Regions from separate parts of the Homo sapiens genome. Here region 1 is linked to region 2. Evidence: promoter capture Hi-C in 16 types of primary human blood cells and fetal thymus (Javierre and others, 2016). All regions are on one chromosome and are shown on one strand. The core of a region is centred on a gene start or on the middle of the fragment in contact, and the rest is flanking DNA. Distances in the headings are between cores, read along the strand shown.

Region 1 (4,427 bases), core at 1,471-3,970, 92 kb after region 2:
GGGGCGCCTCTGCCCGGCCGCCCCTACTGGGAAGTGAGGACCCCTCTGCCCGGCCAGCCGCCCCGTCCGGGAGGGAGGTGGGGGGGTCAGCCCCCCGCCCGGCCAGCCGCCCAGTCCGGGAGGGAGGTGGGGGGATCAGCCCCCCGCCTGGCCAGCCGCCCCGTCCGGGAGGGAGGTGGGGGGGTCAGCCCCCCGCCCGGCCAGCCGCCCCATCCGGGAGGGAGGTGGGGGGGATCAGCCCCACGCCTGGCCAGCCGCCCGGTCCGGGAGGTGAGGGGCGCCTCTGCCCGGCCGCCCCTACTGGGAAGTGAGGACCCCTCTGCCTGGCCAGCCGCCCCGTCCGGGGGCGGGGGGGGTCAGCCCCCCGCCCGGCCAGCCGCCCCATCCGGGAGGTGAGGGGCGCTTCTGCCCGGCCGCCCCTACTGGGAAGTGAGGAGCCCCTCTGCCCGGCCACGGCCCCGTCTGGGAGGTGTGCCCAGCGGCTCATTGGGGATGGGCCATGATGACAATGGCGGTTTTGTGGAATAGAAAGGCGGGAAGAGTGGGGAAAAAATTGAGAAATCGGATGGTTGCCGGGTCTGTGTGGATAGAAGTAGACATGGGAGACTTTTCATTTTGTTCTGTACTAAGAAAAATTCTTCTGCCTTGGGATCCTGTTGATCTGTGACCTTATCCCCAACCCTGTGCTCTCTGAAACATGTGCTGTGTCCACTCAGGGTTAAATGGATTAAGGGCGGTGCAAGATGTGCTTTGTTAAACAGATGCTTGAAGGCAGCATGCTCGTTAAGAGTCATCACCACTCCCTAATCTTAAGTACCCAGGGACACAAACACTGCGGAAGGCCGGAAGGCCGCAGGGTCCTCTGGCTAGGAAAACCAGAGACCTTTGTTCACTTGTTTATCTACTGACCTTCCCTCCACTATTGTCCTATGACCCTGCCAAATCCCCCTCTGCGAGAAACACCCAAGAATGATCAATTAAAAAAAAAAAAAAAAAAAAAAAAAGAAAATGATGATAATGTTTATAATTAACTCTTTGCATCAGGAAAAATAGACTCAGTCCCTTCTCCCTCCTTTGCAAGGGAGTCTTGCAACACCTTCCACATCCAAACATTCACCCCAATACCTCCTCCACTTTCACATCCCTGATAGCAGATATTTTTTTCTCTTCCACTTACTGCTGTATCAATAGTGCACAGAGGAGTGGAAATGGGGGTAGGAGCAGGTGATAAATACTTGGGGAATTAATTTATGTTCTCTTTTCCTTTTTTTTTTTGAGACAGAGTCTCGCTCTGTCACCCAGGCTGGAGTGCAATGGCGTGGTCTCAGCTCACTGCAACCTCTGCCTCCCAGGTTCAAGTGTTTCCCCTGCTTCAGCCTCCCCGGTAGCTAAGACTACAGGTGCACGCCACCACGCCTGGCTAATTTAGTATTTTTAGTAGAGACGGGGTTCCACCATGTTGGCCAGGCTGGTCTCGAACTCCTGACCTCAAGTGATCTGCCCACCTCTGCCTCCCAAAGTGCTGGGATTACAGGCGAGAGCCACCACGCCCGGCTACGTTCTCTTTTTCACCGTGCCACTCTGATATTTTTGTTTCCTCGCTTCTTCCCACTAAACCATGAAAATGGCCTAGCTATGCCAGAGAACTACCATATAAGCTTACTGGAGGTATTCAAAACCTCATTCTTACTGTGTGGCCCTCATTCCAAGGGCAGCAGCAGCATCTGGGAGCTTGCTAGAATTGTAGAAACTCAGTCCCTACCCCAGACTTACTACATCAGAATCTGCTTTTTAACAAGATCCCCCAGGTGATTCATATGCATGTTAAAGTTTAAGAAGTGCTCCTCAAAGCACAGATCTAAGCACATTTTTATCTGGCTTTAAAATCTTTGATGTCTTTCAAACTGCACAGAGTTGTATTTATACCAAGTATTCAGCCTGGCGTTCAAAGCTCTACAGTGTGACCTCTGTTAACTTGTCAATCTTTTCTCTCTCTGAGTCCCTACAGTCCTATGCTCCATCCAGATTGGTGACATCTCTCCTCAAACACATCCAATACGCTTCCCTTTCCCACATCTTTTTTCCAATGTATTCCCTCTTTTTTAAAAGGTTTCCACTGCCTTCCTCTATTCACTCCAACCACCTTCAAAATCCCACTCTTCCTCTGAAGCACACTCAAACCTGAGCTCTCCCAGGTGGTATTTTATAGAGCCCCCTAGTTCAAAATACTGTCTACCTCCCATGTCAGCAACATTTATACCTCTATTAACTCTTAATCACATTCTCTTTCCAGTTATGTGTATATCCATCTCCCCCACTTCACCTCGAGCTCCTAGAGAATGGCGATAGTCTCTAGGTCTGTTGAAATGAATTGAAGGAAAAAGGATTTATAGTGATCTATAGGAAGACTATCCATGGGCACTGTCTCAACTCCCCTCTCCCTGCATCCAGTTCCTCCCATGGCCCAAAGTATGGCAGTTTCTATGGCCTCAGGAGCGGGACCAGTTAGTTTCAAGGGAGGGCTACATCACATACCTCTGAGTTTATCTTGGCTGCCACCTGCTTCCAGCTCCGATTCCTGGAAAACAGTGTCCAAAGCCGCCAAATAAAAAAAACAAACAATAATAGAAGGCTGATATCTGATGGCAGTGGGACGTCCATCCCCCAAATTGGTGCCATTTCTCAACCCCATGCTCTTCTCAGCCAGAGTTTTCTGCCTCAAGGCTGTGACTTCATATGACATCACAATGGGCATCCCAAGGTAAATCTGACAGCATCCAGCCAATGTGCATGCTACTTAGCTCTCTTCTCTGAGCCATACCCAAAGTACAATCTGCTGCCCCTTCCTGCAGCTGTCCACAGGCTCCACTCTGACAGCCAAAGCTCAGGGAAGAACTCCTTTATGACTCTTCTAGGACTGGGCTAGACAGCTTGTCATTAAGTAGGGAGTATGTAGGCAAGGTTTTAAAGAAGCAGGCCTCCCAAGTGGCCTGTTCTGCCCTACAAGCATTTTCTCTGGAGCCAGTCACTCCCTGGAAGTCCAGATATGGTGTTAAATGCCCCAAACCACAAACTAGAATACAAAGTCAAGTAATTTTTATTTTTTTGAGATGGAATCTCACTCTGTCTCCAGGCTGGAGTGCAGTGGCACAATCTCAGCTCACTGCAACCTCCGCCTCACAGGTTCAAGCAATTCTCTGCCTCAGCCTCCCAAGTTGCTGGGATTACAGGCACGCGACACCACACCCAGCTAATTTTTGTATTTTTAGTAGAGACGGGGTTTCACCATGTTTGCCAGGCTAGTCTCGATCTCTTGACCTCGTGATCCACCCGCCTCAGCCTCCCAAAGTGCTGGGATTACAGGCGTGAGCCACCGCACCCGGCCAAGGTCAAGTAAATTTAAGAAAGCTAGGATATTTTAAGTAGGTACTCTCAGAAAATTTGAGATAAACGGTTTCCTAAGTCTAAGGCTTGACACATTTTCTAGCTGCTATTGCATTGAGATGGAAAAGAGATGTCAGAGAGGGAAATTAAATTACCTTAGAGGATCACTCTACCCCAGAATCTACAGTCTCATTTTCCAAGTCTAGAACATTTATTCCATCATGTCATCCAGACTTGACTGGATTCTCTAGGGCTAATTCACTATAAACAAAAAATGTACAAGGAATCAATTCATTCTATAACAAAGATTAATAAAACTGGCCAAGGCATTCTTTTTTCTTATAGGAAAGTTAATCTGGAAAAGCAACTCGATGAACTATTGAACAGCAGGTAATGTCTTAGAGGACAGATGAGGTATCTACCTCATAGAATTTTCAGCCTACAGGGGCAGCCTAAGCAATGTTCTAGAAAAGCCCATCAAGAAGAAAGTAGTTAAATAAATGTGCTATACCCATATTATGAATACTCTGTGGTCACTATACAGATTATAACGATAAAGAATAAGATATGGATATGTAATATGAGCTGAACACACATTAAGTGGCAAGTACTAGTTATATGCCAGCCTGGAGTTCTAAAAAAAGATTAGAACTGAAGACATAGTTTTGGGTTCTTAAAACATTATGTATATAATATATAAAACATATTTATATATTATATATATAGTTTGACAAGAACCTTTCTCTATATGGATATAAAAATGTATTCTTTGTGTCTTAAATATTTACTCACCATTATGTTTGAGATAGCCATCATATTTTGTATAGCTGTAATTCATCATTTTTTAATATTTCATTGTATTATATAACTATTCTATAACATATTTATCCATTATGGTATTGATGGATATTGGGCTTCTTTTCAGTGTTTGCTTATTATAAACAATGCTGTCAAAAACATCCTTGTCCATGCATCTTGGTAAACACAAGTTCCTAATTCTCTATGGCAGTAGTTCTCAAACTTTAAAATGCATTACAGTCATG
Region 2 (4,980 bases), core at 2,029-4,528:
TGGAAGTAGGTGACAAAGAAAACCTAAAGAATGACAAATATTTATCACAAGTAAAATGCCCCATCATCTTTCCATTCCATGACTGCTAGTCCATCCCACTCCCAAATACCCCCATCCCAGCTTCGGGGTAATACCACAGGCAAAGAACAGGTCAAGAAAATAACCCAGGTCTTTTGGATTTTTATTAGCTGTCACAAATATTAAATTTGAAGTGTCTGACCATACTGATCACCTTCTCATAGTCTACTTCTCTGTCTGACAAAATGCCTACTTATTTTCTATATTTATGCTCAGGTTTGCTGCTCTTCTTTACCAATGTGATCAAGCTAAGGAATTTAAGAGTCACAGATTTTTACACAACCATATTAATATACTAAAGACAGATATACCTGATCAAATCTGGTAGCAAAGAGATTGAGTGAGGTCACTATGCCGCCATTGGGTCCAAGTCCATATCTAGACACCAAGTTGAGGACTGAAATCGCTTATAGATTAGATTATAAAGTTCATACCTAGGCTATCATTCACACAAACGGCATTATGAAATTAGTGTTCCATTAATGGATACTGGCAACCTAATCCTTGACTACCATACAAACTTAACCACACAGGGAAACAGTCATTATCAAGGTCTGGCTCACTCATTTGATTTAAGGAGTGGTCAGGCAAAATGAAGAAAGCAAAGTGACCAAAATGTAATACAGGTGCATCAGGCAGTGACAGCCCACTGGCATTGGTCATTAAGGCCACCTGTATAACACCTCCGGCTCTGATCCTCATAAATAAACCAAGCAATCTGCTGATTATGATTAGTCTTCCTACTTAGACTTGCCTACGGAGAGAGTACACATTTCATACAGCAATTTACTAAGAGTTAATCCAACTAAACTCACTCATTTCTGAGTTTCCCAGTCTAAAGAGGTGGTGACCAACAGATGATCCTCCAAGGCAAAATACTACCTTGTGGGACCCAGGTAGCTGTCAGTTATCCTATCATACTCTCTGCTCTTTAATTACAACAGCCTGCCATCTGGGGAGATGGTAAGAAAACTAAAATCTCAAGCTGAAATAGTATTTCTGATCACCTACCTCTCCCACAATCAGCTTCCATCCTTTTGCTTGTATATTTCACAAGGAAAAGGCAAAAACACTCTTTCAAGCCACAAAATACACAGACAAGAAGCCAGGAATGAGTCAAGACCAAAGTAGATGGAAAAGGATACTGTTTCATTACTTCTTTATACTTTACAGTATCACGAATATCTGAGGAGAAAAAAAAGAATTAACTGGAATGTAATACATACACATTCCCTACCACCAGGAAAGTAAAACTGGCCTTCTAGCCTTCTCCTGTCAGCATTCTCTTCTACCACCTCCACTTTCACACTGGTTTCCTTCCTTACAAAGAATAAATGCCAAGTAAATCATGAAGAATGTTAGGGCTAGGAGCTCTAAAGTTGTGGCAAAGAGTTTTGTCTCCACAAAGTGCAAAGTTTCATGCAACTTAAACATGCCTAGAAAAAGGGAGGCAAAAATCAAGGGGGAAAAAATGCTTCTTACTAATTGCCTATTACTGACAAAGGCAACACAATGGCAATGCAGACATGATTTTTTAAAAGGAGTTAGGCTGGGCACAGTGGCTCACACCTATAATCCCAGCACTTTGGGAGGCCAAGGCAGGAGGATTACTTGAGCCCAGGAGTTCAAGACCAGCCTGGGCAACATAGAGAGGCCTTGTCTCTCCAAACAAAACAAAACTAGCCCAGCATAGCGGCAGGAGGCTGAGGTGGGAGGATCACTTGAGCCTGGGATGTTGAGGCTGCAGTGACCTGTGAATCACGCCACTGCACTCTGGCCTGGGTGACAGAGACTCTGTCTAAAAAAAAAAAAAAAAAAAAAAAAACCTAAGCTGTTTAGGAATGCAAGCAAATCCAAAGGAAATGAAAGTAGATAGTTTAGAAAACATGAAAAAAGAAGGCACTGAAGACTGGCAGGCTGGAGGCTTTACAGAGTCTCACTCTATTGACCAGGCTGGAGTGCAGTGGCACGATCTTGGCTCACTGCAACCTCTGCCACCCGGGTTCAAGCAACTCTCCTGCCTCAGCCTCCCGAGTAGCTGGAATTACAGGTGCCTGCCACCGTGCCTGGCTAATTTTTTGTATTTTTAGTAGAGATGGAGTTTCACCATCTTGGCCAGGCTGGTCTTGAACTCCTGACCTCGTGATCTACCTGCCTCGGCCTCCCAAAGTGCTGAGATTACAGCCGTGAGCCACCACGCCTGGCCTTTTCCATTCTCTTTAAAGCACTGCACACAAGTTATGTTACTGGTTTACTCACCAATATTGGCAGGAAAGGGAACTTCATGTACTGCTGGATCCAGGTTGATCACATACGGTGGAGTGCCTTGGGCATGCAGGTGTCCTGTGAGCCTCTGCAGAGATATGGGGAGAGGGTTGGAAGGAGACAAAGAGGGGACAAGAGAGAACTTCCATTCCTTTAACACCCATGCCTTAAGAATATTGCACTTAGATTTTCTTCTACCTGAAATATCCACCATGTCCACCTCCAAGATACAACTCTCAGTTCAAATGCTACCTTTCTTCATCACCCATCTAACAAAGCTTCCCCTACTCGTAGTCACTTGTTTACTTGTTTTGATTCTTCGTATGTGGGTTTTCTCTATCTCCTCCATTAAATATTTGGCCCCACGAATGAATCTTGTCAACCTCATTTTCGCTATATCCCCAGTGAATGGAACATGACAGGCGTGCAAGAAATATTTGGCAAATCTTCACCAAAACCTGTGTGCTAGCACTGTATTAATCTTTAAAGTTACTTGTAACTTGCCTCCGAGAAACGCAATTTTATCAGCAAGACAATTCCTGTACAACGTGGTAAGCTGGACCGAGTATGCCCTGAAGGTGCGCAGAAGAGAGCCTTAATTAACCTGGCTAGGGCCCGAGGAGGCTTTGCCGGGGAAGGAACTAAAGTTGATGGGAAGCCCCCGAAAGCCATGCGCCGGTACCCTCCAAATCCTCTTCCCTCCCTTTCTTCCTGGCCTTCCGCCTGCCGGAGGCAACCTTTTGCGCTCCCCTACTACACCCATGCTGTGTACGTCACCTGTACAAAAGTGGTTTTCCCGGATCCCGCCATTCCCAACACCAACAGACACACTGGGTGCCGCGGACCCCCAGAAGCCTGGAGCTCAGCGGCAGCTGCGGACGCCGCCATCTTCCTCCTGGCCCCACCCACCCGACCATAGAGACACCGCATGGGTAGAGAAACTTCCGCAATGTTCTGGGCTGCGAACGAAAACCACCACAGCGTCAGAAAGGAGCGGGTGAGGGGCGCGGCGGTTGCCAGGGCATCTTCTTAGCGTCGGGCAGGGCTGATGAGTCAACTAGTGACAGTGGCGAGGAAGTGGGGGCGCTGAGCAAGCGAGAGGAAGGCTGAAGGGAGCTAGGAAAAGGGCGCTGATCTCTGCAGCCTGGGAGGGCTTTTGTCTCCCGGAGGAAGGCCAGAAGAGATGGGGTCCCGAGGGCAGGGCTCACACAGCAAGAAAACGAGGAGCATGCCTGTCATTTTGAGCCCACAGAGAACGGGGAGCGGAGCCACTGGAGGACCGGCTGCTCGGGCTTATTCGGTAGCCGAGGCGGTTAAACAGTTCAGGGCTGGACCAGCCGGGACTGGAGCAGGGTGCAGTCTCCAGGGTTGCTGGGCAGCACCGAGACCCTTTGAGCACCGAACGAATAAACTACGGGAGCTTTCCACACTTGCACATTGTTCCCGCGAGTTGCAGACGCAGGTTCCTGATGCTAGCGCTCATTCCTTGGCAGTCACCCTCAGTGAACTACACAGTTGCCGTGACCTTCAGGATGAATGCTTGGATTCCAGGTGCAAGTAGGTACTGGAGGGGAGCTTCCTCCCCTCCAGTCACTGAAGGTCCCTCAGAAACTCAGGAAAGATGATGAAAGAGCCTAGAAAATTATTTCTACTCCTGACCACCCAGTCTGTTTCTGTGACCCTTTGTAGCTGCAAACAGTGTTCAGTAAGTCATAAGATCTGGCTTTAATACCCAGGCTCTGCCACTTGCTAGTGGTGTGAGTCATGGGCAAGTCACTTAAACTCTCTGAACCTGTTTTCTCCTTTTTTAAAACTGAGGTAATACCTCCCAGGGTTGTAGTGAATGCACGTTGTAAATGACGAGCTACATTCCTCATCCTTTACCACTAGCTGGATTCCCCACACCTTGCATAATGTCTGGAACATTCTGGTGCTCAGAAATATTCTCTTGTATGAATGAAGGACAGTTGTGCACTTACTTCCTAAAGTTTCATTAACTGACAGAGGAATGTCTCGTTTGTTCTTTCAGGTTTGCTGAGGGCCCCAGAAGGCTCCTTCCACCGTATCATAGTCTAATAAATAATTTTGTCAAGCCAGAGAAGCTAACAAAGGTAGAGACAAGGCTTAAAGAAAAGATAGTGGCGGAAATGACGGATCTGAACAAGCATATAAAACAAGCTCAAACCCAGCGGAAACAGCTACTGGAGGAATCCAGGGAGCTACACCGAGAAAAGTTACTTGTCCAGGCTGAAAACAGATTCTTTCTGGAATACCTGACTAACAAAACTGAAGAGTACACAGAGCAACCTGAGAAGGTATGGAACAGCTATTTACAAAAAAGTGGAGAGATTGAACGAAGAAGACAAGAATCAGCCTCCAGATATGCAGAACAAATTTCAGTGCTTAAAACAGCGCTCTTGCAAAAGGAAAATATCCAATCCAGTTTGAAGCGGAAGTTGCAGGCAATGAGGGACATTGCTATATTAAAGGAAAAGCAGGAGAAAGAAATACAGACATTACAGGAGGAGACAAAGAAAGTCCAAGCTGAGACAGCTTCAAAGACACGGGAAGTACAGGCCCAGCTCCTCCAGGAGAAAAGATTACTGGAGAAACAACTGAGCGAGCCAGACAGGAGGC

The links. The method cuts DNA at HindIII sites, captures the fragments that hold promoters and counts their contacts. A CHiCAGO score of 5 or more calls a contact.
Region 1: a contact is called between the fragment with the promoter of SPATA31H1 here and the fragment with the promoter of CCDC121 in region 2, in 1 of 17 cell types (endothelial precursors). The highest score is 5.4, in endothelial precursors.

The regions. Positions count from the first base shown.
Region 1 is chr2:27,535,679-27,540,105 of GRCh38, reverse strand. It overlaps SPATA31H1 (SPATA31 subfamily H member 1), which reads right to left and starts at 2,720. Exons shown (of 5, transcript NM_032266.5): 1 at 2,536-2,720. The coding sequence starts at 2,679. RefSeq lists an enhancer at 2,430-2,724. The HindIII fragment of the contact is 4,761 bases long and covers 1,661-4,427 here.
Region 2 is chr2:27,627,310-27,632,289 of GRCh38, reverse strand. It overlaps CCDC121 (coiled-coil domain containing 121), which reads left to right and starts at 3,278. Exons shown (of 2, transcript NM_024584.5): 1 at 3,278-3,340; 2 at 4,373-4,980. The coding sequence starts at 4,491. GPN1 (GPN-loop GTPase 1) reads right to left here and starts at 3,240. Exons shown (of 14, transcript NM_007266.4): 1 at 3,121-3,240; 2 at 2,338-2,431; 3 at 1,224-1,263; 4 at 390-456. The coding sequence starts at 3,231. RefSeq lists enhancers at 2,996-3,095, 3,136-3,445, 3,506-3,565 and a silencer at 4,014-4,308. The HindIII fragment of the contact is 4,758 bases long and covers 2,624-4,980 here.